Linked DNA regions of Homo sapiens: all the other regions are linked to region 1. The links are contacts of gene promoters, found by promoter capture Hi-C in blood cells and fetal thymus (Javierre and others, 2016). All regions are on one chromosome and are shown on one strand. Each heading gives the region's core, a stretch centred on a gene start or on the middle of the fragment in contact. The rest is flanking DNA. Distances are from core to core; before and after follow the strand shown.

Region 1 (4,931 bases), core at 1,393-3,892:
TATATTATATATAAATATATATATTTATAATATATATATAAATATATATAAAACTCATATGATGCTATTAAGAAGATCCAGTAAGGATATGGGAAACTTTAACTTCATTATTGCCGAACTATTTTCCAAAGTGATTGCACTAGTGTCACTCCTATAGAGTTTATGAGAGCTCCACTTCCTCTCTCACTTTTGGTATTGTCAGATATTTTTTTTGAGACAACAGGGTCTTGCTCTGTCACCTAGACTGGAGTGCACTGGCATTATCCTGTCAGACATTTTAACTTTTGCCTATCTGATAGTAATGATAGTAAGCCTCGCTCTGTAGAAATATGAGCCTAGTCTTCAAACATGGCATAATAGTGTTTTAGATATTAACATTACATGCTCACTGGAGATAATTATATACCCCCCATACCATCTGTAAGTCACTGTTTTGGCTCCTATGTCAGGATCTTTTTATTAAATATTAACAAAAGAATGGCCGGGCGCAGTGGCTCACACCTGTAATCCCAGCACTTTGGGAGGCTGAGGCGGGTGGATCACGAGGTCAGGACTTCGAGACCAGCCTGGCCAACATGGTGAAACCCCCATCTCTACAAAATATACAAAAAAATTACAAAAAATTAGCAGAGCGTGGCGGTGTGCGCCTGTAATCCCACCTACTCGAATCACTTGAACCTGGGAGGCAGAAGTTGCAGTGAGCCAAGATCGCGCCATTGCACTCCAGCCTGGGTGAGACTGAGACTCCGTCTCAAAGAAAAAGAAAAAAAAAAGAAGACAGGTTATTATGTGCTATTTAGTATTACCTAGAAAGGATATGACTGGCATTGACTTTTCCCTCCTGAGAAGATACTTCTAACATATATGAAACCCAAGGGACCAGATATTGGATCCACTGTGATGAGTGTCAGAATTCTTGTAACCTCTTTTTTCCTTATTAGTATCTGTCATGCCAGGTTGTTGGCTCTGATGATGTCATAATGCTTTGTTTGTAGGGTCATCCGATGCTACTGTTTCCACAGGAACAATCAGCTTTTAGGCAAAGTGAACCTTGGACGGTAAAAGCTGATCTTCTGAGGTCATAGGAATAAATATATCTCAAAGAAAATACACTGGAAACTTCTTCTTTAAGTTTTCCTCTTTCATTGGAATATGTGGGTTTCCTCACTGTTGTAATGTTGATGACACAACAAGGCTAACACCGGATATGCTTCTGGCTGATTCCGGTTTACCAAGAGCATCCAAACATCCCTCAAGGACACAGTCATTTTGCACAACAAAGGGAAACTCCGCTCATTTCTGGCATTAAGGTGGACATCTGAGAAAGGGGAGGGTATACCACCATAACTTCTCTAGTGATGAATAGTGTTTAATATTATACCATAGACTAACTGGCGTATTTTAAAGATCTTTTTCCTTTTTGAACACATTTCAGATTAGAGAAGTTCCAGAGAACGTAATCTATTTTAAGAGTGTGAAAGAGTGATATTCCACATTGCTTTTATATCTTAAAGAAATTTCTAAAAAGAAAGCCGAGTCAATAAAATGACAGATTTTAAGCCTTCATTCTGGTAACATAAAAGCCTTCTACTCATTGTGTCTGCCACCTTAATTTTTAAAGATAGAGCATGAGGTGTAAGCTTTTGGCTTCCATTTTCCTCTTATAAACCAATGACATCTTCAGTTCCAGAATAGCTTTTTAAAAACGTGACTTCTGATAAATGTTGGCAGAACTGGTGCATTCCTAAAATAAATTATGTATGCTCAGCTTTCCCTACCCAAGTTCATCCCTAAATGACCACAAAACTGCCCACCACGAACTATGCTTAAGAGAAGTCTGGACATAATGGTATAAGTGTATATAACACGACATTGGTATATTTAAAAAAAAATTCATGCCTAGGGTCAATTCTGATAATCAAATTTAGACTGCTGCAACAACCGTAACTATTGTTGATATATGCGCAGTTTAAAAGTGAAGGGCGGGGGTAAGGGGCAGAAACTGCACACAACAAACTTCCAAATTTTGTCTCCCTTTTCAGGCAAGTTTCAGCTCCACAAATCTAAATACCCTCGCCTTTAAAATATCAGTGTCGTTCTGCTCTTAAATCCTCATCCCGTTGTACAAGGAAACCTATGTCTCTCTTCCCCAAATTAAGAATACGAGAAGCCTTCCAGGTCTGCAAATACCAGAAAGCAGCTGCGCATGAAGTTTTATGGGGCCCCAAGGCTCTGAGAGTGGGCTTGGAGGTATGGAAAACACATCCCAAGGGAAAAATCTGTGAACCGCACAACTGTGGTTGGAAACGAAATAGGAAAAAAACTGCGCGGAACCGGACGTCATCAGCATTTCGCGGTACACACGAAGAAAACAACCGTAGTCGGGTCAAAACTGGAGCCGTGTCTCCTCAGTAACGAGAGTAAATGGGGGCCCGACGCGTGAGCGGCCAGCCGGACTGAGACAGAAAGTACTCAGAGCGCCATTTACCGCGCCCTCGCCCCGCCCCGTAGCCCCTCCTCCCGTCCGCCCTGCGCGCCAGCCAATCCCCTCGCTCCATCCCCTTCCCATCGCAGACCCCGCCCCCGCGCCCGGGATGTTGAGCCCCCGCGGCGTGACGCGAGCACGGCAGCTCCTCCCCCTGCGTCTCTGGCCTCGCCGGTCTTGGGGGGATGGTTCCATCATGGCGTCAATGCAGGTGAGAGGAGTTTGCTGCATCTGGGCGGGCCAGGGAGCCGCCGAGAGAGTGCCAGCGTTCGGGCGGGGGTGGCGTCCGCGATTCGGGGACACCCGGGCGGGTTCGGGATCGGTCCGGGTGGCCTGTTTTCCCTCAGCTCAGGGCGTCGGGGGAGGGGTAAGAGGCGGCGAGAGGCGTTGTGGGGGGTGCGGTATCCGTCGGTCGAAGCGGACACCAGCCGGCCGGGAAGTTGGGTGATAAAGGAGGGTTGGGGAAGAAAGGGCAAAGTCTGGCGTTGGCGGTCTCAGAATCGGCTCCCCGCACACACACACGGGCGCTGCCAGTCTGCTGCCCGCCAGCCCCAGGGTTGCCTTTACCCCCGCTGTCCCTGGCCCGACGGAAACAGCTGCGCCCGCGGTTGTTGCCGGGGCAGGGGCGGCGGGGGGCTGAGTGTGCGGGAGCCGAGAATGCGTCTCCGGAGAAGGCGGCTGGCTGCGGACGGCGCTTAGCGGCCTCTGCTCCGGCCTCCCACGCCGGGCCCCCCAGACTGCTCGGCCCCGTCCCTCTCTTCTTCCCTTTGACTCTTAATCCTGTGCCCGTGGGTATCTTCTATTTCCATCAGCCTCGGTATTCTCGCGGACATTCCTCCAGCAGTCCACTGTCTCCTTCCTCTCGAAGCTGCCCCGTGTCCACCGCCTGATGGGCGATCTCCCGAGAGCCGAGTCCTCAGCCCCCTTAAACCTCTCGGGATAGCTTGCCTTCTATTTTGTTTCCCACTGCAAGGCCCCACCCTTGCGGTCGCGATAAGGCTATACATCTCTTTGCCCTTATTCCCAGACCTTTAGTGGAACCTTAGTTTGGTAGGAGGCGTTTGTTAACCTGTGCCATATCCCCCCGACTTAGCAAGGCGTGGTTTTCTGGCTTTCCAACTTAATTTACTCCTTTTTCCCGAATCTAGGGAGTTGTGGGTTTTTTTGTTTTTTGTTTCCAGGCAAAGATGGCAACCACAATTGTAGTTGTGCAGGGATTGAGTGCGTTATCTGTAGCCTGCATTTAATTCACAGGTGAAGACTAGCGGTATCAAAGGCATTGGAAGAGAAAGTAGAACGCTCAATAGGAGTGTCAGCTGAGTACCCTTTAGCGTTTTCATAATATCCCCTTGGGTAAAGAGACCACATTTTCTTAGAAGTGTTTTTTGCTTTTGTTTCTGGAAGAAGCAAGTCTCTGTTCCTCCTCCATTTTTTTTTCTTTACTCTGCTAAAAGTGTTTTTCTTCCCTTTTCTGCATCTTCTTCCTCTTTTGTACAAATATAGCTTTGCTTCACATTTACTCCTGTGCTTTTATGTTATTCCCCTTTCAACCTGTTTTCCTTACAATATTCTCTTTACCTTGCTTCTCCCTCTGGACTTGCCTGCAGAACAGAAAAGTTTTATGTAACATTTCTAGTTGAAGAGATATCACGAATGGTGCAGGGAAAAAACAGGAACAATTTCAGGAAACATTATACTTTACACTAGTCTCCCCAGAGACGTTGGAGAAGTTTCGTCATTTGAGGCCAAAAAAGGAACAGTGGAATGCTAGTTGAACAGTAGATGCAATAGGCTACATTACCACTTAAAGATTTTTATCTGTGTTAAGATTAAAACATTTTTTATGACAAGTTTAAGATTATTATCTGTATTAAGATTAAAACATTATTTGAGGCTAAACATTAAGATTAAAATCCACAACACTTGTATTTGACAAGAGAACGTAGTGTGTCATCTCGTTAGATTTAGTATCTGGAAAAGGCAGATTTGTTTGTAAGAGAGAGGTTGGTAATCTTGAACTTGAACTTTACATGGTGTCTTTTTTCTTTTTTGAGATGGAGTTTCGCTCTTGTTGCCCAGGCTGGAGTGCAATGGGGCGATCTTGGCTCACCGCAGCCTCCACCTCCCGAGTTCAAGCGATTCTCCCACCTCAGCCTCCTGAGTAGCTGGGATTACAGGCATGAACCACCACGCCCAGCTAATTTTGTATTTCAGTAGAGACGGGGTTTCTTCATGTTGGTCAGGCTGGTCTTGAACTCCCGAACTCAGGTGATCCGCCTGCCTTGGCCTCCCAAAGTGCTGGGATTACAGGTGTGAGCCACCGTGCCTGGCCTACATGATGTCTTAAGAATTGGAAACAAATACTTGATTGACAGTGCAATAGTGCATTTTTCTGTGCCCTAAGTATTACTATCTCAGACTCTTACCACCCTTTTAAGTTTTTCCT
Region 2 (4,931 bases), core at 1,550-4,049, 210 kb after region 1:
GTTACCTTTAGCTAATGTATCCAGTTCTTGGCCCAATCTCTTATAGCTAGGTTGGTCAAGTTATTTTCTTTTAATATATGTTGAGTCATAGCAAGTTAAACAAGAAGAAAACAATTTGGACTATTTTGCCTGAATGTTACTTGTTTCTATGGCCAGAATTAGACACTTACTTAAGGCTTCTTGGTTTTTCATTGTACCCCTGTGAAATAAATCTGTGAGACACGGAAATCATTTTACAGATAGTGATGGCTATCAGTGGAAATTTGATAGGGCGAAAGAAGTTTTTTGAAACATCCAAATTGACTTGATTGCATTATGTTAATTATCAGTAAAATTAATAATAGCCAAGATTCTGATTTATGAAAACAGCTTGTTTATTACATTTCAGTTTATGTTATATAGGCTGATGATTTGTTGCTAAGTATTGTGATGTTGGTGTGCTATTTATTCTGAGGTTGTTCAAACTTTGCATATAAGATTTTTCACTCATTTGTAACACCCTCTTAAAAAGCATATTGGAAAGTACAACAGTTGATGTTGAATATTCAGTTGGCCCCTCGTATCCCTGGGTTCTGTATCCATGGGCTCAGCATTCATGGATCCAGCCAATTGTGGATTGAAAATATTCAGGAAAAAAAGGGTGGTTGCATCTGTATTGAACATGTACAGACATTTTTTTCTTGTCATTATTTCCTAAACAACGCAGTGTAACTACTATTTTCATAGCATTTACATTGTATTAGATATTATAAGTAATCTAGAGATGACTTAATGTATATGGGAGGATGTGCATAGGTTATATGCAAATATTAAAATATTAATATTTTATATCAGGGACTTGAGCATTTTATATCAGGGGCTTGAGCAGCCATGGATTTTGGTATCTGTAGGGGGTAAGGGTGAAGGTCCTGGAAACAATTCCCCACAGATAACCTAGGGATGACTGTATTTGTACCAGCAGTGATATGAACAGTTACAAACCTACAGTTTTGGTTTCTGCCACCAGATGGTGCTTGTATACTGATCAAACAACATACAGACTGGGTGAGCTCACTTTGGTTACTATTCCAAGGCCATTAAATTAGAGGTTAAACCGTATGAAACTGCCAATATTTGACGTTTCTTTGACCTACAAATATGTCAGTTTCATATGTTCAACCCAATAGGAAAAAGTCATCCAAGTATACAACATTAAATTCTCTTGGATAAATGAAGTAAGCATAAAGTGGTGAAAAGCCCAATTTGTTTCAATAGATATAGAACTTTGCCTTTTGTATACTACATCCCTTGGTTTGGGGAATATATTCTTTTCTCTTTTCTCATATGCTTTACACATGGAATGTGTGTCAGAACTCTTAAACTGATTCTACTTCATGTAGATATCACTTTATAGAATAGATGTAGAACTGAAAGATAGGCAGCAAGGTAACTTTTTAAATATTTTGTTAAAAATAATGTTAAATTATTAACATTAATGTTAAATTAGGATTTTTTTTTATTTGGGAGAAATTAACCTAAACCCATAACAAAGACGCATTAGAAATGTCTTTTTAAAACTCTCATAAACCAGAGAAGAAAATTTGAACAAGTTACCAAAGCAAGGATGAGGAAGAGTGAACTTAAGATCAGTATCCCCCATGGTCACAGATATAAAAATTATTATTATTATTTTTTGAGACAGTCTTGCTCTGTTGCCCAGGCTGGAGTATAGTGGCCTGATCTTGGCTCACTGCAACTTTTGCTTCCCAGGTTCGAGCGATTCTCATGCCTCAATTTCCCGAGTACCTGGGACTACAGGCGCATGCCACCACACCTGGCTAATTTTTTGCATTTTTGGTAGAGACAGGGTTTCAACATGTTGCCCAGGCTGGTCTTGATCTGCAGACCTCAAGTGATCTGCCCACCTCGTCCTCCCAAAGTGCTGGGATTACAGGCATGAGCCACCATGCCCAGCCAGATAAAAATTCTTAACAAAATATCAGCAAATTAAATTCAGCCGAATTTAAATAACATTATGATTAAATGAAGTTTATTCTAGGAAAGCAAGATGAATTTAGTATTCAGTAATCAAAGTAATTAACCCAATTAATAGAATAAAGGAGAACAACCATATCAGTATCTCATTAGGTGCAGAAAAAACATTTGACAGAAGTCAGCGCTCACTAATGATATAGACTCAGCAAACTAGGAATGGAAGAGAACTTTCTTAATCTGATAAAGGGCTTCTTCAAACAACCTCCAGATAACATTATGCTTTATAGTGAAAGACTGAATACTTGTAAGATCAGGAACAAGGCAGTAATACACACTGTTATCACTTCTGTTCAACATTATACTTAAGGACTGGTACGGTGGCTCATGCCTGTAATCCCAGCACTTTGGGAGGTCGAGGTGGGCAGATTGCTTGAGCTTAGGAGTTTGAGGCCAGCCTGGGAAACATGACCAAACCCCATCTCTGTTGGCGTGTGCCTCTAGTCCCAGCTACTTGGGAGACTGAGGTGGGAGGATTGCCTGGGCCTGGGAAGTCAAGGCTTCAGTGAGCTGTGATCGCCACTGCATTCCAGCCTAGGCAACGCAGTGAGACCCCACCTCAAAAAAACAACAAAGAACCCCACATTATACTTGAGTTCTATCAAGTGCAACAATAAGAAGAAACAAATGGGGGAATATTGGAATAGGAGATATAAAACTATCTTCATAGACACCATGATTCTGTATGTAGAAAATAATAAATCAAAAGTACTGAAAAGCTACTGAATAAGTGAATTTAGTAAGGCCACAAGTTGCAAGGTTAGTATACAAAAATCAGTGGTATTTCTAGTAAATAGTAATGAGCAGTTGGGGAATTAAATAGCGTGAAAACATATTCAGAGATAAATTTAATAAAATAGGTACACAACCTGTATAATGAAGGCTATAAAATACTGCTCAAATTAAAGAAGACTCTATTATTTAAGATTTCAGTTCTCTCAAAGTTGATGTGAAGATGCAATGCAGTTGTAACAAAAATCATAGTAGAGTTTTTTTTTTTTTGGTAAAATTAATAAAGTAGTGCTGACATTTGGAGATGCAAAAAAACAATTTGGCTACTGCAAATTGTTTTTGCAGTAGCCAAAGCAATTTTGAAAAGAACAAAATTGGCTGGCCCACACTACCTGACTTCAAGATTTGCTATAAAGCTACAATAATCAAGACAGCAGAAAATTAACATAGGGACAGATATATGGATCAGTGGAACAGAATAAAACAGCAGTTGGCAAACTATAGCCCATGGGTCACGTCTGGCTTGCCTGTTTTTGTATGGCTTGCAAGCTAAGTAATGTTTTTTACATTTGCAAGTGGTTGGAAAAACATCAAAAATAAAATGATATTTTACAACACATGACATTTAGATGAAATTGAAATTCTAGTGTGTGTCAGTAAAGTGTCATTGGAACACAGCCACAGTCACTTGCTTATGTGTTGTATATACTTGCTTATTTATAGTCTGCTTTTGTGTTACAACAGCAGAGTCGAATAGATGTAATAGATCATATGGCCTGCAAAGCCCAAAATATTTTATATTGGGCCCTTTACAGAAGTTTGCTGATCTCTGGAATATGGAGGCAAGAAATAGATCAATCCATATATGAACAATTTAATTCTTTCAAAATTAATTCCAGTGAAGGTGCTAATGGGGAAAGGATACTCTTTCCAACAAATAATAGTAAAATAATTGGCCTTTCTGACAGAAAAAAAAAAGAACCTGGGCTGGGCGCGGTGGCTCATGCCTGTAATCCCAGCACTTTGGGAGGCTGAGGCAGGTGGATTACCTGAGGTCAGGAGTTCGAGACCAGCCTGACCAACATGGAGAAAACCTGTCTCTACTAAAAATACAAAATTAGCCTGGCATGGTGGCGCATGCCTGTAACCCCAGCTACTCAGGAGGCTGAGGCAGGAGAATTGCTTGAACCCGGGAGGCAGAGGTTGTGGTGAGCTGAGATTGTGCCATTGCACTCCAGCCTGGCAACAGGAGTGAAACTCTGTCTCAAAAACAACAACAACAACAACAACAACAACAACAAAAACCCCTGAACCTTGACTTCACACCACAGACAAAAATAAATCAGAAATGGGTCATAGACATATATGTAAAAGTTAAAGTAAAATTTCCAGAAGAAAATACTTTGCTACTTTGGAAATAGACAAAGATTTCTTAGAACACAAAAAGCACGGATCATGCAACAATTGAGAAATTACATGTCATCAAAATTTAAACATGGATCATGAAAAAATTGAGAAATTATAAGTCATCAAAATTTAAACTTCTGGTACTAGAAAGACACTTTTTACAAAATGAAAAAGCAAGACATATATTAGAAGGAAACATTCGTAATACATATATTTGAAAGAGGACTTCAGAATATATAAAGGAATACCTACAACTCATTAATAAGGCAAAAATGGACAATATTTTTGAATAGACAATAGAGATAAGAATGGCTAATAAACACATGAAAAGATGCTCAAAGTGATTAGTCATCAGGGAAATGCAAATTAAAACCATAGCTAAAGTTTAAAAAGACTGACAACACCTAGTGTCATGGTGGGGCAACTGGAAGTCTCATATATTGCTGCTGGGGATATAAAATGGTACAGGCACCTTGTCAGAGTTTATGATGTTCTTATGAAGTTAAGCATGTAGTACTTATCTTACCACCCAGCAATTCCATGTGGTATTTACCTAAGATAAATGAAAATATATGGCCATTCAAAGACTTATACATGAAAGTTTGTAGCATTTTTCTTTATAATAGCCCCAAATTGGAAACAACCCAAATATCTACCACTAGGTAAATGGTTACACTGTAATGTAACCATGACTTGGCATACTATTCAACAGCAAAACTTGTGATTCATCCAATGATATGCATGAATCTCAGAAACAATAT
Region 3 (4,931 bases), core at 1,559-4,058, 200 kb after region 1:
ATACCCAGTAGTGGGATTGCTGGATCAAATGGTAGTTCTACTTTTAGTTCTTTAAGGAATCTCCATACTGTTTTCCATAGTGGTTTTACTAGTTGACATTCCCACCAGTGGTGTAAAAGTGTTTCTTTTTGGCTGGGCGCAGTGGCTCATGCCTGTAATCCCAGCACTTTGGGAGACTGAGGTGGGCAGATCACGAGGTTAGGAGATCGAGACCATCCTGGCTAACACGGTGAAACCCTGTCTCTACTAAAAATACAAAAATAATTAGCCGGGCAGTGGCGGGCCCCTGTAGTCCCAGCTACTTGGGAGGCTGAGGCAGGAGAATGGTGTGAACCCGGGAGGCGGAGGTTGCAGTGAGCTGAGATCGCACCACTGCACTCCAGCCTGGTGACAGAGCGAGGCTCCATCTCAAAAAAAAAAAAAAGAAAAAAAAAGTGTTTCTTTTCACCACATCCACGCCAACATCCTTTATTTTTTTATTTTTAAATTATGGCCATTCTTGCAGGAGTAAGGTGGTGTGTTAGTCTGTTCTCACACTGCTATAAAGAACTTCCTGATTCTGGGTAATTTATGAAGGAAAGGAGGAAGTTTAATTGACTCACAGTTCTATATGGCTTGAGAGGCCTCAGGAAACTTACAGTCATGGTTAAAGGTGAATGGGAGGCAGGCATCTTCTTCATAAGGTGGCAAGAGAGAAAAAGACTGAAGGAGGAACTTGCCAAACCCTTACAAAACTATCAGATCTTGTGAGAACTCAGTCACTATCATGGGAACAGCAAGGGGGAAACCGCCCCCATGATTCAAATTACCTCCACTTTGTCTCTCCCTTGACACATGGAGATTATGGGGATTACAATTCAAGATGAGATTTGGGTGGGGACACAGCCAAACCATATCAGTTGGTATTGCATTGTGGTTTTGATTTGCATTACTCTGATAATTCATGATGTTGAACATTTTTTCATGTTTGTTGGCCATTTGTATATTTTCTTTTGAGAATTATCTATTCGTGTCCTTAGCTGACTTTTTGATGGCATTATTTTTTTCTTGCTGATTTGAGTTCCTTGTAGATTCTGGATATTAGTCCTTTGTCAGATACATAGTTTGTGAAGATTTTCTCCTACTCTATGGGTTGTGTGTTTACTTTGCTGATTATTTATTTAACTGTGCAGAAGCTTTTTAGTTTAATTAAGTCCCATCTGTTTATCTTTGTTTTTGTTGCATTTGCTTTTGGGTTCTTGGTCATGAAGCCTTTGCCTAAGCCAATGTCTAGAAGAGTTTTTCCAATGTTATCTTCTAGAATTTTTATGGTTTCAGGCCTTGATTTAAGTCTTTGATCCATCTTGAGTTAATTTTTATATCAAGTGAGAGATGAGGATCCAGTTTCATTCTTCTCCATGTGACTTGCCAATTATCCCAGCACCATTTGTTGAATAGGATGTCCTTTCCCCACTTTATATTTTTTGTGTGCTGTGATGAAAATCAGTTTGCTCTAAGTATTGGGCTTTATTTCTGGGTTCTCTATTCTGTGCCATTGGTCTATGTGCCTATTTTTATAGCAGTATCGTGCTGTTTTGGAGACTATAGCCTTATAATGTAGTATGAAGTCAGGTAATGTGATGCCTCCAGATTTGCTCATTATGCTTAGTCTTGCTTTAGTTATGTGGGCTCTTTTTTGGTTCCATATGAATTTTAGCATTGTTTTTTCTAGTAGTGTGAAAAATGATGATGGTATTTTGATGCGAATTGCATAGAATTTGTAGATAGCTTTTGGCAGTATGCTATTTCCACAATATTGATTCTGCCCATCCAAGAGTTTGGGATGTGCTTCCATTTGTTTGTATCCTCTATGATTTCTTTCAGCAGTGTTTTGTAGTTTTTGTCGTAGAGTTCTTTCCACCTTCTTCATTAGGTACATTCCTAAGTATTTCATTTTTTTGCAGCTATTGTGAAAGGGTTTGAGTTCTTGATTTGATTCTCAGCTTGGTCGCTGTTGGTGTATAGCAGAGCTACTGACTTGTGTACGTTTATTTTGTATCTTGAAACTTTACTGAATTCATTTATCAGATCTAGGAGCTTTTTGGTTGAGTCTTTAGGGTTTTCTAGGTATACGATCATATCATCAGCAAACAGCAACAGTTTGACTTCCTCTTTATCGATTTGGATGCCCTTTATTTCTTTCTCTTGTCGATTGCTCCGGCTAGGACTTCCAGTACTGTGTTGAATAGAAGTGGTGAAAGTGGGCATCTTTGTCTTGTTCCAGTTCTCAGGGGGAATGCTTTCAACTTGTTCCCTGTTCAGTATAACGTTGGCTATGGGTTTGTTATAGATGCTTTTATTACCTTAAGGTATGTCCCTTCTATGCCGATTTTGCTGAGGGTTTTAATCATATAGGGATGCTGGATTTTGTAAAATGCTTTTTCTTTGTTGAGATGTCATGTGATTTTTGTTTTTAATTCTGTTTCTGTGGTGTATCACATTTATTGACTTGTGGACGTTAAACTATCCCTGCATCCCTGGTATGAAACCCACTTGTTCATGGTGAATTACCTTTTCGATACGCTGTTGGATTCAGTTAGCTTATATTTTGTTGAGGATTTTTTGCATCTATGTTCATCAGGGATATTGGTCTGTGGCTTTCTTTTTTTGTTATGTACTTCCCTGTTTTTGGTATTAGGGTGATAATGGCTTCATTGAATGATTTAGGGAGGATTCCCTCTTTCTCTGTCTTTTGGAATAGTGCCAATAGGATTAATACCAGTTCTTTTTTTGAAAGTCTGTTAGAATTCAGCTGTGAATCCGTCTGGTCCTGGGCTTTTTTTATTGTTGTTGTCAGTTTTAAAATTACCATTTCAGTCTTGCTGTGGTCAGTTCAGAGTTTCTGTTTCTTCCTGGTTTAACCTAGAAGGGTTGTATATTTCCAGGAATTTATCCAGCTCCTCTAGGTTTTCTAGTTTGTGTGTGTAAAGGTGTTCATAGTAGCCTTGAATGATATTTTGTATTTCTCTGGTATCAGTTGTTATATCTCCTGTTTGTTTCTAATTGAGCTTATTTGGATCTTCTGTCTTCTTTTTTTGGTTAATCTTGCTAATGTTCTATCAATTTTGTTTATCTTTTCAAAGAACCAACTTTTTGTTTTATTTATCTTTTGTATTTCTTTTGTTTCAATTTCATTTAGTTCTGCTCTCATCTTTGTTATTTCTTTTCTTCTGCTGGGTTTGGTTTGTTCTTGTTTCTCTAGTTCTTGAGGTGTGACCCTAGATTGTCTTATTTGTGCTCTTTCAGACTTTTTCATGCAGGCATTCAGTGCTGTAAACTTTGCTCTTAGCACCACTTTTTCTGTATCCCAGAGGTTTTGATAAGTTGTGTCACTATTATCATTCAGTTCAAATTCTTAAATTTCCATTTTGATTTCATTGTTGACCCAACAATCATTCAGGAGCAGGTTATTTAATTTCCATGTATTTGCATGCTTTTTGAGTGTTCCTTTTGCAGTTGATGTCCAATTTTATGCCACTGTGGTCTGAGAGAGTAGTTGATATAATTTTGATTTTCTTAAATATACTGTGACTTGTTTTGTGGCTTATGTGGTCTGTCTTGGAATATGTTCCATGTGTTGATGAATACAATGTGCATTTTGCAGTTGTTGGGTAGAATGTTCTGTATATATCTGTTAAATCCATTTGTTGTAGGGTATAGTTTAAGTCCATTGTTTTTTTGTTGACTTTCTGTCTTAACGACCTGTCTAGTGCTGTCAGTGGAATATTGAAGTCCCTCACTATTATTATTTTGCCCTCTGTCTCATTTATTAAGGTCTAGTAGTAATTGTTTTATAAATTGGGAACTCCAGTGTTAGGTGCATTTATATTTAGGATTGTGATATTTTCCTGTTGGACTAGTCCGTTTATCATTATGTAATGTCCCTCTTTGTCATTTTTAACTGTTGTTGCTTTAAAGTCTGTTTTATCTGATGTAAGAATAGCTACTCCTGCTGGCTTTTGGTGTCTGTTTGCATGAAATATCTCTTTCTACCCCTTTACCTTCAGTTTATGTGAGTCCTTATGTGTTAGGTGAGTCCCTTGAAAACAGCAGATACTTGGTTGGTGAATTCTTATCCATTCTGCCATTCTGTATCTTTTAAGTGGAGCATTTAGGCCATTTACATTCAACATTAGTATTAAGATGTGAGGTACTATTCTATCCATTGTGCTAGTTGTTGCCCCAATACCTTTTGTCTGTTTTTTCTCATTGTGTTATTGTTTTATAGGCCCTGTGAGATTTATGCTTTAAGGAGGTTCTGTTTTGGTGTATTCTGAGGCTTTGTTTCAAGATTTAATAATTCATTTTATTACTTCTTTAGTGCTGACTTGATAGTGGCAAATTCTCTCAGCATTTGTTTGCCTGAAAAAGACTTTTATCTTTCCGTCATTAATGAAGCTTAGTTTCACTGGACATAAAATTCTTGACTGATAATTATTTTATTTAAGGAGGCTAAAGATAGGACCTCAATTCCATCTGGCTTGTAGATTTTATGCTGAGAAATCTGCTATTTATCGGATAGGTTTTTCTTTATAGGTTACCTGGTGCTTTTGCCTCACAGATCTTAAGATTATTTCCTTTGACTTGACTTTAGATAACCTGATTGACTGTGTGCCTAGGTGATGATCTTTTTGCAATGAATTCCCTGGGTGTTCCTTGACCTTCTTGTATTTGGATGTCTAGATCTCCAGCAAGGCCAGGAAGTTTTCCTTGATTATTCCCTCTAAGTTTTCCAAACTTTTAGATTTTTCTTCTTCCTCAGGAACACCACTTATTCTTAGGTTTGGTCATTTAACATAATCCCAAACTTCTTGGAGGCTTTGTTCATTTTTTAAAATTCTTTTTCCTTTGTCTGTGTCAGATTGGGTTAATTTGATTAGGCCTTGTCTTTG
Region 4 (4,931 bases), core at 1,407-3,906, 150 kb before region 1:
ATGAGGGGTGGTCTCCTCCCTTAATTGTAGTAAAGGTTTCTCAGGGAGATGATGATACCAATCTACAAAATGGAACAATTCATTTACACAATCCCCTGTGGCTTTTCGGGTTTTATGTTTGGTTGGTTGGTTGTTTTTTTGTTTTGTTTTGTTTTTGTTTTTTGAGACAGGATCTTGCTCTGCCACCCACACTGGAGTGCAGTGGCACAATTTCGGCTCACTGCAACCTCTGCCTCCTGGGTGCAAGAGATTCTCACTCCTCAGCATCCAAAGTAGCTGGGATTACAGGTGTGCGCCACCACTACCAGATAATTTTTGTATTTTTAGTAGAGATGAGGGTTTCACCGTCTTGGCCAGGCTAGTCTGGAACTCCTGACCTCAGGTGACCCACCCACCTCGGCCTCCCAAAGTGGTGCGATTACAGGCAGAAGCCACCATGCCTGGCTACCCTCTGGTTTTAATGGTTGCTTCATTTTGCCCTTCCTCCACATTGACTGTCTTCTTGGTAACCACAGGTCTCAGAGGTAACTTTGTTGCCTGGGCTTAGTTTTTCTCTTTATCCATTTAGTTTTATCTGTATAATTTTTCCTTTACTCTAAAGCAACTCTTAAATAGTCACTTAACTAAAAAAAAATTACTTTTTTTTTTTTTTTGAGACAGAGTCTCACTCTGTCGCCCAGGCTGGAGTGCAGTAGTGGCACGATCTCGGCTCACCGCAACCTCCGCCTCCTGGGTTCAAGCAATTCTCTTGCCTCAGCCTCAGCCTCCTGAGTAGCTGGGACTACAGGTGCCCGCCACCACACCCGGCTAATTTTTGTATTTTCAGTAGAGACAGGGTTTCACCATACTGGCCAGGCTGGTCTCGAACTCCTAACCTTGTGATGCGCCCGCTTTGGATTCCCAAAGTGCTGGGATTACAGGCGTGAGCCACCACACCCAGCAAAATTACATTTTCTTTAGCAAAAAACACATCCTTGTGTCTTTTTGTTTTTTGTTATTTTGGAGCAGAGTTTTAATAGGCAGAAGAGAAAAGAAAGAGAAATAGTCTCCAAGTGGAAAAGACCAGCAGGCGGCATATACTCCGGATTTCATACAGAGAGGATGAGAGATATGGTGGTCATGGACAGGAAAGGAGGAAATTACAATAGGAAAGGTGGCAATCCTATTACTGACACCCTATCAGGTGGTCGGAAGCTGGGGTCAGTCCAGAAGCCTTTGGATAACACGGGGGTAGCCCCAGCCAGAAATCCTCAGTTGCTCCAAAACCTCTTCCAGCCCCATGCAACAGCTAAGTCCTCTCTGAAAGTAAGCTGGTTCAAACAGGGCCAATATGCCCAACAACCCATGGGTACTCGGGGATTCTCCATGTTCTCTCCAGAAAGCCTGTCCTCCAAGTCTTATAAGGCTGGCAGCCATGCTAATCATTTTTAAATGGCTGAAGGTGGCCCAGTAGTTGGTTTGATTTGGTTCTTAAATGGAGGCTGACAGCCTTGAAATGTAAGGACAGAGTTGGAGTCTGCTCCTCTGCTCACCGTTTCAATGAATGTTGTACTTTGGTATCCCAGATGAACCTCCAATATGAAGCTGCTACGTTGTCTGGAGTATAAACCCAGGGTTTGTCATCTTTCACCAGGAAAACTTAGGACACAAACACACACGAGGAGTTTAGGAGTGGAGGTTTAATAGGCAGAAGAGAAGAGAAAGAGAAACAGCTTTCTCTATATAGAGAGAGGGGTCTCCAAGCAGAAAAGACCCCATCCTTTTGTTTCTATAAACTTCACCAAAAACACTTCTGTCGCCAGGCTGGAGTGCAGTGGCACAATCTTGGCTCACTACAACCTTCACCTCCCGGGTTCAAGCGATTCTCCTGCCTCAGCCTTCCAAGTAGCTGGGATTACAGGCGCATGCCACCAGGCCCAGCTAATTTCTGTATTTTTAGAAGAGACAGGATTTCACCATGTTGGCCAGGCTGGTCTCAAACTCCTGACCTCAGGTGATCTGCCCGCCTCAGCCTCCCAAATTGATGGGATTACAGGTGTGAGCCACTGCACCCAGCCTTTTTAATGTAAATTCTTGGTAAACAACTCAGAAACTCCCTCTTCTTTCCCTTTAAAAACCCTCTTGTAACTGCTGCTAATTTATGGAGTATATATTCAGGGCAACTCAAGTTGCCATGCTCCCAGGATGCAGTCCTCAAGCTTGGCCCAAATAAACTCTCTACTTACACTAATTCTGTCTCAGCTTCTTCCTTTTAGGTCAACACTGCTGTATTAGTCCATTCTCACGCTACTATGAAGAAATACCCAAGACTGGGTAATTTCTAAAGGAAAGAGGTTTAGGTTGGGCGCAGTGGCTCATGCCTGTAATCCCAGCACTTTGGGAGTCCGATCACCTGAGGTCAGGAGTTCAAGACCAGCCTGACCAATATGGTGAAACCCCATCTCCACTAAAAATACAAAAATTAGCCAGGTGTGATGGCAGGTGCCTGTAATCCCAGCTACTTGGGAGGCTGACGCAGGAGAATCACTTGAACCTGGAAGGCAGAGGTTGCAGTGAGCCGAGATGGTGCCACTGCACTCCAGCCTGGGTGACAGAGTGAGACTCCATCTCAAAACAATAAATAAAATAAAGGAAAGAGGTTTAACTGACTCACGGCTCTGCAGGGCTGGGGAGGCCTCAGGAAACAATCATGGCAGAAGGGGAAGCAAACGCGTCCTTCTTCGTATGGTGGCAGGAAGGTGAAGTGCAGAGCAAAAGGGGTGGGTGGGGAAAGCTCCTTATAAAACCATCAGATCTCATGAGAACTCATTCACTATCATGAGAACAGCATGGAGGTAACCATCCCCATGATTCAATTACCTCCCACTGGGTCCCCCATGACATGTGGGGATTATGGGAACTACAATTCAAGATGAGATTTGAATGGGGACACAGCCAAACCATATCAATTACTTACCCTACCTTGCCCATTGCTTCCTGTGGAAAACATAACAAACACTCTTGCCCACATTCTTCCCCTCCCTCCACATTCTCACAGACACTGGTGCTTCCCCAGGTGGCTCTGCATGATGCACCATGCCTCCGTTTCCTAGAGATCTGTGAGGATAAGCTTCTTTCTTCATGACAGTCATTTCTGTGTCTTCCTATCCTACCATATCTGATTAAAACAAATCCTGGGTACCCTTAAAACAGGAACAATACCTTTAAATTTTTTTTTAAATACTCAATTTATTCTAATTTGAATTAGGTTGGTGTAGGATGACAAACTCCAAGCAAAAGAGCATTTCTTCTGGGCTCCCAGAAATAGCTTCAACAACACATTTGTATTTTCCCTAAAATGAAGTATAAGAAATACAAGTAATACAAAATGTTAGATGCTACTATTTCAGAGGCTTTGTAAGAACTTTCTCTTACTAGCAGAAAGCCATTTAAATTGGATTGATTTTATAGTTTTCCAATGAGACGAAATTTTCCATGTCTTTGAATTAAATGAGCATAAAGCCCATTTATTTCCCAATTATAAGATTATGTTATTTTTAAAAACTAACCTAAGAGGTTTTGAAATATTAGATATTAGTTTATAACAAAATAATGAAAGAATATGCATTATTAAATTTTATTTTAAAATGGTCACCATAAGTAAAATGCATAAAATCTCATTACTAGATATGTCACGCAAATATCTAGAATCACAATGGTATTATTCATTGAGGCAGCAATTATTTTTACAAAGGCATGGATGACCAGACTAAGTTCCCAAAAAAATCTTGAACAAAAAAAGTCTGTAATTTATGTGATTTTTATTCTCCTAAACAATGTTCACATTATATTTACATGAATAGTTATAGAGATTTACTGGCTTATACACAATGGTCATCCAGTGCTTTCATCTGAAGACTGTTCAACAGATTAGTAATGAGCACTTGCATTCAAATTACTTTTGCCCATGTATGTTAGAGGGAAAAAAAAATGAAGCGGAAAAAAATGCTATGTTTTGTGCAATTTTTCCATAGTCTACAGAAAGAAAAAATACCAAAAGACCTAATACTAAGGCTGGGTGTGGTGGCTCACACCTATAATCCCAGCAGTTTGGGAGGCCAAGGCCAGGTCTCACTAACAACTGTTTCAGTACTGAGTGGTTAAGTTAAATATTTAAAGCCAGCGCCCTTATGCAAAGGATGGGATGTAACAAAAGCCCATCAGGAGTTTTGCCCAGGCCCTTCCTTTAAGGCTTTCTTAAACCATAACAAAATAACTAAGAAATTCTTAATAGGACCCATTTAGGATCAATCGAGTTTTATTGTGGGTCCGAAGAAACTCCCCAGGCTTCCACAACCAAGTTTACTGGGGGTCTGAAGGAACTCCTCAAACCTCCATGATTTAGCAGGAGACAAGATAAAGGTAATCACCCCAGCACCCAGACCCATTTAGATTAAGTAAAGTTCCTGAGGCTCCAGATGAAGGTCTTCAGGACTCAGACCTTAATTATAGATTAAAAGAAGTTAATCACTTGTGTCTTCAGATGAATGCACACTTACACATAGACATATACCTTAGAATGTATATAAGCTCTGAAAACTTTGTAATTTTGAGTTGGTCTGGCGATAATTTCCAGACCTTCTCCCTGTAACCAGTTACAGAAATAAAAGCTCTCTTCCTCCCCAGTTCATCTGCATCTTGCTATTGGGCTGCGAGAAATGGCAGCCCGACCCTCAGTTTGGTCCAGGAACAAAGGTGGGTGGATCACATGAGGCCAGGAGTTTGAGACCAGCCTGGGCAACATGGTGAAACCCCATCTCTACTAAAAATAAAAAAATTAGCTGGGCATAGTGGCATGTGCCTGTAATCCCAGCTACTCGGGTGGTTGAGGCACAGAATCACCTGAACCTGGGAGGCGGAAGTTGCAGTGAGTCCAGAACACACTTCACTCC
Region 5 (4,931 bases), core at 1,623-4,122, 130 kb before region 1:
CAGAGCTGTCAGACAGGGACCTTTAAGTCTGCAGAAGTTTCTGCTGCCTTTTGTTCAGCTATACCCTGCCCCCAGAGGTGGAGTCTACAGAGGCAGGCAGGCCTCGTTGAGCTGTGGTGGGCTCCACCCAGTTCGAGCTTTCAGGCCTCTTTGTTTACCTACTCAAGCCTCAGCAATGGCGGACGCCCCTCCCGAGCCAGGCTGCTGCCTTGCAGTTCAATCTTGGACTGCTGTGCTAGCAGTGAGCAAGGCTCTGTGGGCATGGGACCCACTGAGCCATGCACAGGATATAATCTCCTGGTGTGCTGTTTGCTAAGACCATTGGAAAAGTGCAGTATTAAGGTGGGAGTGTCCCAATTTTCCTGGTACAGTCTGTCACAGCTTCCTTTGGCTAGGAAAGGGAAATCCCCTGACCCCTTGCACTTCCTGGGTGAGGCAATGCCCCACCCTGCTTTGGCTTGCCCTCTGTGGGCTGCACCCACTGTCCAACTAGTCCCAGTGAGATGAACCAGGTACCTCAGTTGGAAATGCAGAAAACACCTGTCTTCTGTGTCGATCACGCTGGGAGCTGCAGACTGGAGCTGCTCCTATTTGGCCATCTTGGAACGGACCCTTCCATTCTTTTCTTAGGAAGTTAGCTTGAAGCTTTGCCCACATTGAAGAAGGCAAGAGGGAACTGAGGCAGGGCGAGGGAGAACAGAACCCCTTCTTAGGCTCTCCTCTCCTCTTCTCAAAAGGTATCCATGCAGCTCACTCATGGTCCAGTCTAGTTTTCCTGGCAGCTATGCAGGGGGCGGGATCTGAGCCTCAGATGGTATTGTACATTGAATTGTGTCCCCCAAAAAGATATGTTGAAGCCCTAACCTCCAGTGCCTGTGAACATGACCTTATTTAGAAACAGGATCTTTGCAGATAATCAAGTTAAAATGAGGTCATTAGGGTGGGCCCTAGTCCAATATGCAAGTGTCCTTATTAAGAAGGGGAAATTTGGACACTGAGATAGACAAACATAGGAGGGAAGACCACAGTGAAAGGACCCAGGAAGAAGATGACCATCTACAAGGCAAGACATGCCTTAGGCCACCAGAAGCTAGGAGAGAGGCCTGGAACAGATCCATGCCTAGCTCCTACAGAGGGAGCATGGCCTCGTTATCTTGGTTTCAGACTTCTGGACTCCAGAGCTGTTACATGATAAATTTCTGTTTTTCTAAGGTATTCAGTTTATGGTACTTAGTAACAGCAGCCCCAGCAAAATCCCGGTAACAGAACTTACAGGCTTATGAATTTTTTTTTAAACAGGATCTTGCTCTGTTGCCCAGGCTGGAGTGCAGTGGTGCAATCACGGCTCACTGCAGCCTCCACTGCCCAAGCTCCAGTGATCCTCCCGCCTCAGCCTCTCAAGTATCTGGGACCACAGGCATGCACAACCAGACCCAGCTAATTTTTGTATTTTTGGTAGAGACGGCATTTTACCATGTTGCCCAGGCTGTTCTCAAACTCCTGATGTCAAGCAGCCCACCTCCCTTGGCCTCACAAAGTGCTGGGATTGCAGGCATGAGCTACCGTGCCCAGCCCAGGCTTATTAAATTTAAGATGCTTTGAAATATCCATCCATTGATTCATAAATGTGTTTTTGAGAGAAACAGATATATGTGTGTGTGTGTGTGTGTGTGTGTGTGTGTGTGTAAACTGGTGAGATTATGGGTAACTTTTACTTTATAATTGCTTGTCCATATTTTCTAAATATCATATCATAAAGATGTATAACTTTTATAACAACCAAAAGGAAAATTATTTTAAACATAGATATGTATGGTACTTGCAAATTCGACTCCCAAATTTCAAGGGTCTCTTGATACGTCAATGCTTCTTAAATCAGAAAGTCCTAAGTTCTGGGCCCACATACTCAGCTGCCAGATGGCCATGTTTATTTGAATATTCCAAAATTACCTTGAGCTTAACATGCCCAAGCCAGAACTCATTATGTTTCCCTTTAAAAAAAAAAAAAAAAAAACCTGCCTGTTCTTTTGTACACATCATCTCAGATAATGGCACTTCCATACATCCAGTCACTGGCCCTCAAGTGTGGTGCTTTTTTTTTTTTCTTTTTTTTTTTTTAAGTCAGGGAGTGCAGCGGTGGATCACAGCTAGCCAAGACCTCCTGGGTGCAAGTGATCCTCCCACCTCAGTCCCAAGTAGCTGGACTAAAGGCTGGTACCACCACACCCAGCTAATTTTTTTTTTTTTTCAGAGATGGTGTTTCACCTCCTTGCCCAGGCTGGCCCCAAACTCCTAGCCTCAGCCTCCCAAAGTGCTAGGATTACAGGCACCCAGCCCAAGAGGGTCTTGATTTTACCTAATCCTTGCCTGCCACATTAAATCAGTGTATCCTGCCTATTCTGTCTCCCAAAAATCTCTCTTTCATCTCCTCCCTGCTACTCCCTGGCCGCCGTCTCGTTCAGCCCTCATGGTCTCTCACAGAGCCTCCTGGATGCTCTTCCTTCCACCCAAGTTTCCTGCCTCAGCCTACCCCCACCTCCTGCCATATGGATGCTAGTTATCTGTAAAAATGGAAATCTCAGTGGGTCATCCCTGCCCACTGACTATAGGATACCGGCCAATATTTTGCGCATGAGTTACATGCTCACACTGCCCCCTTTTCTAGGCTCATCTCCAGCAATTCCCCACAAGCACATTCTGCTCCAACTACAAAAAAACTACTCTCCAAATAAACCATACTCTTTCATGACTAGATGTGTTTGTACATGCTGTTTCCTCTCCAGGGAATGTTTTTCCCCCTCACCCTCTGATGTTCTCAGATTCAAGACCCTAATAAAATACTCTATTGAAGGCTTGTCTGACCAGCCTGGGCAACATAGTGAGACCCTGTCTCTACAAAAAATTTAAAAATGTCCAGGAGCAATGGCTCACACCTGTAATCCCAGCACTCTGGGAAGCTGAGGCAGGAGGATCACTTGAGCCCAGGAGTTCAACACCAGCCTGGGCAAGATGGTGAGACCTTATCTCTATTTTTTAATTAAAATAAAATTAAATTTAAAATTAGGGCCAGGTGCGGTGGCTCACACCTGTAATCTCAGCACTTTGGGAGGCACTTTGGGAGGCCGAGGCAGGCAGATGGCCTGAGGTCAGGAGTTTGAGACCAGCCTGGCTAACATGATGAAAACCTGTCTCTACTAAAAATACAAAAATTAGCCGGGCATGGTGACACACGCCTGTAGTCCCAGCTACTCGGGAGGCTGAGGCAGAATCACTTGAACCCGGGAAGTGGAGGTTGCAGTGAGCTGAGATTGTGCCATTGCACTCCAACCTGGGTGACAGAGTGAGATTCTGACTCCAAAAAAAAAGAAAAAAAAATTAGCTGGACATGGTGATCTGTGCCTGTAGTCCTTGCTACTCAGGAGGCTGTGACTAGATGATGACTTCAGCCCAGGAGTTTGAGGCTGCAGTGAGCTATGGTTGCACCACTGCACTCTAATCTGGGTGACAGAGCCACAAGATAAGATCTTGTCTCAAAAAAAAAACTTATCCCAGTTTTTCTGCCACAGTTATTTAGTAATTATATAGTTAAAACCAATAACATATAGTTCTATTGCTAATAGAACTATATGTTATTTACATACACCTTTTTACAATAAATTTACAAAAAATTTACAATAATTTTACAAAAAAATTATATGTAAATATAATTTTATTGTATGGCAATGGCTCATACCTATAATCAATTTACAATAAAATTACACATAATTTTATTATAAATTTTGTTCTTATAACTGTCTTTCCCAGAATGGAGTGACTTTTTTATTTATTTATTTATACTGATTTACCAGGTACATGTGCAATCTCATTACCTGCATAGGTTGTGTAGTGGTCAAGTCAGGGCTTTTAGGGTGCCCATCACCCAAGTAACATATACCCATTAACTAATTTTACATCATCCACCCCCTCACCCTTCCAACTCTTCACTATCATTCCACTCTGTAGTACATGTGTACACATTTTTTAGCACCCACTTATGAGTGGGAACATGCAATATTTGACTTTCTGTGCCTGGTTTGTTTCAGTTAAGATAATGGCCTCTAGTTCCATCCATGTTGCTGAAAAATACATGATTTCATTTTTTTAATGGCTTAATAGTATTCCATTGTGTAAATATACCACATTTTATTTACCCATTTGTCTGTTGATGGACACTTAGGTAAATTCCATATCTTTGCTATTGTGACTAGTGCAATAAACATATGAGTGCAGGTATCTTTTTGATATATTGATTTCTTTTCCTTTGAGTAGATACCTAGTAGTGAAATTGCTAGATGGAATGGTGGTTCTATTTTTAGTTCTTTGATAAATCTCCATATTGCTTTCCATAGACTATACTAATTTACATTCCCACCAAAAATGGATGAGTTCTTTTTTCTCCATATTCTTGCTAACATCTGTTACTTTTTGTCTTTTTAAGAATAGCCATTCTGGCTGGGGTAAGATGATATCTCATTGCAACTTTAATTTGCTTTTCTCTGATGATTAGTAATATACCTATTGACCATTTCTATCTGTTCTTTTGAAAAGTATCTATAAGTGTCTATTCATGTCCTTTTCCCACTTTTTTTTTTTTTTTTTTTGAGATGGAGTCTCACTCTGTCACCTGGGCTGGAGTGCAATGGCATGGTCTCGCCTCACTGCAACCTCCACCTCCTGGGTTCAAGCGATTCTCCTGCCTCAGCCTCTCAAGTAGCTGGGACTACAGGCGCATGCCACCACACCTGGCTAATTTTTGTAGTTTTAGTAGAGATGGGGTTTCACTATGTTGGCCAGGCTGGTCTCGAACTCCTGACCTCATGATCCACCTGCCTTGGTATCCCAAAGTGCTGGGATTACAGGCGTGAGCCACTGCGCCTAGCCACTCTTCCCAC

Evidence for each region. The method cuts DNA at HindIII sites, captures the fragments that hold promoters and counts their contacts. A CHiCAGO score of 5 or more calls a contact.
Region 2: a fragment that was not itself captured here is called in contact with the fragment with the promoter of UBE2W in region 1 in 2 of 17 cell types (non-activated CD4 T cells and M2 macrophages); the score reaches 5.9 in non-activated CD4 T cells.
Region 3: a fragment that was not itself captured here is called in contact with the fragment with the promoter of UBE2W in region 1 in 4 of 17 cell types (megakaryocytes, erythroblasts, M1 macrophages and 1 more); the score reaches 8.2 in megakaryocytes.
Region 4: a fragment that was not itself captured here is called in contact with the fragment with the promoter of UBE2W in region 1 in 2 of 17 cell types (activated CD4 T cells and neutrophils); the score reaches 11.8 in activated CD4 T cells.
Region 5: a fragment that was not itself captured here is called in contact with the fragment with the promoter of UBE2W in region 1 in 2 of 17 cell types (activated CD4 T cells and neutrophils); the score reaches 7.8 in activated CD4 T cells.

What each region holds. Positions count from the first base shown.
Region 1 is chr8:73,876,573-73,881,503 of GRCh38, reverse strand. UBE2W (ubiquitin conjugating enzyme E2 W) reads left to right here and starts at 2,642. Exons shown (of 6, transcript NM_018299.6): 1 at 2,642-2,696. The coding sequence starts at 2,682. LINC01617 (long intergenic non-protein coding RNA 1617) reads right to left here and starts at 2,522. Exons shown (of 3, transcript NR_147034.1): 1 at 807-2,522. RefSeq lists silencers at 2,410-2,699, 2,840-2,889, 2,910-3,169 and enhancers at 2,556-3,433, 3,910-3,959. The HindIII fragment of the contact is 3,471 bases long and covers 1,643-4,931 here.
Region 2 is chr8:73,661,733-73,666,663 of GRCh38, reverse strand. The region is part of intron 6 of STAU2 (staufen double-stranded RNA binding protein 2); the gene reads left to right. Among named protein-coding and RNA genes, the nearest start is that of STAU2, 83 kb to the left of the region's middle. RefSeq lists a silencer at 896-1,190. The HindIII fragment of the contact is 9,464 bases long and covers 1-4,931 here.
Region 3 is chr8:73,680,875-73,685,805 of GRCh38, reverse strand. The region is part of intron 5 of STAU2 (staufen double-stranded RNA binding protein 2); the gene reads left to right. Among named protein-coding and RNA genes, the nearest start is that of STAU2, 64 kb to the left of the region's middle. RefSeq lists a silencer at 3,815-4,015. The HindIII fragment of the contact is 3,262 bases long and covers 1,178-4,439 here.
Region 4 is chr8:74,027,357-74,032,287 of GRCh38, reverse strand. LY96 (lymphocyte antigen 96) reads right to left here. Exons shown (of 5, transcript NM_015364.5): 5 at 3,209-3,332. The coding sequence ends at 3,234. Among named protein-coding and RNA genes, the nearest start is that of LY96, 38 kb to the right of the region's middle. The HindIII fragment of the contact is 911 bases long and covers 2,201-3,111 here.
Region 5 is chr8:74,011,568-74,016,498 of GRCh38, reverse strand. All of the region lies in intron 3 of LY96 (lymphocyte antigen 96), which reads right to left. Among named protein-coding and RNA genes, the nearest start is that of LY96, 23 kb to the right of the region's middle. The HindIII fragment of the contact is 4,449 bases long and covers 648-4,931 here.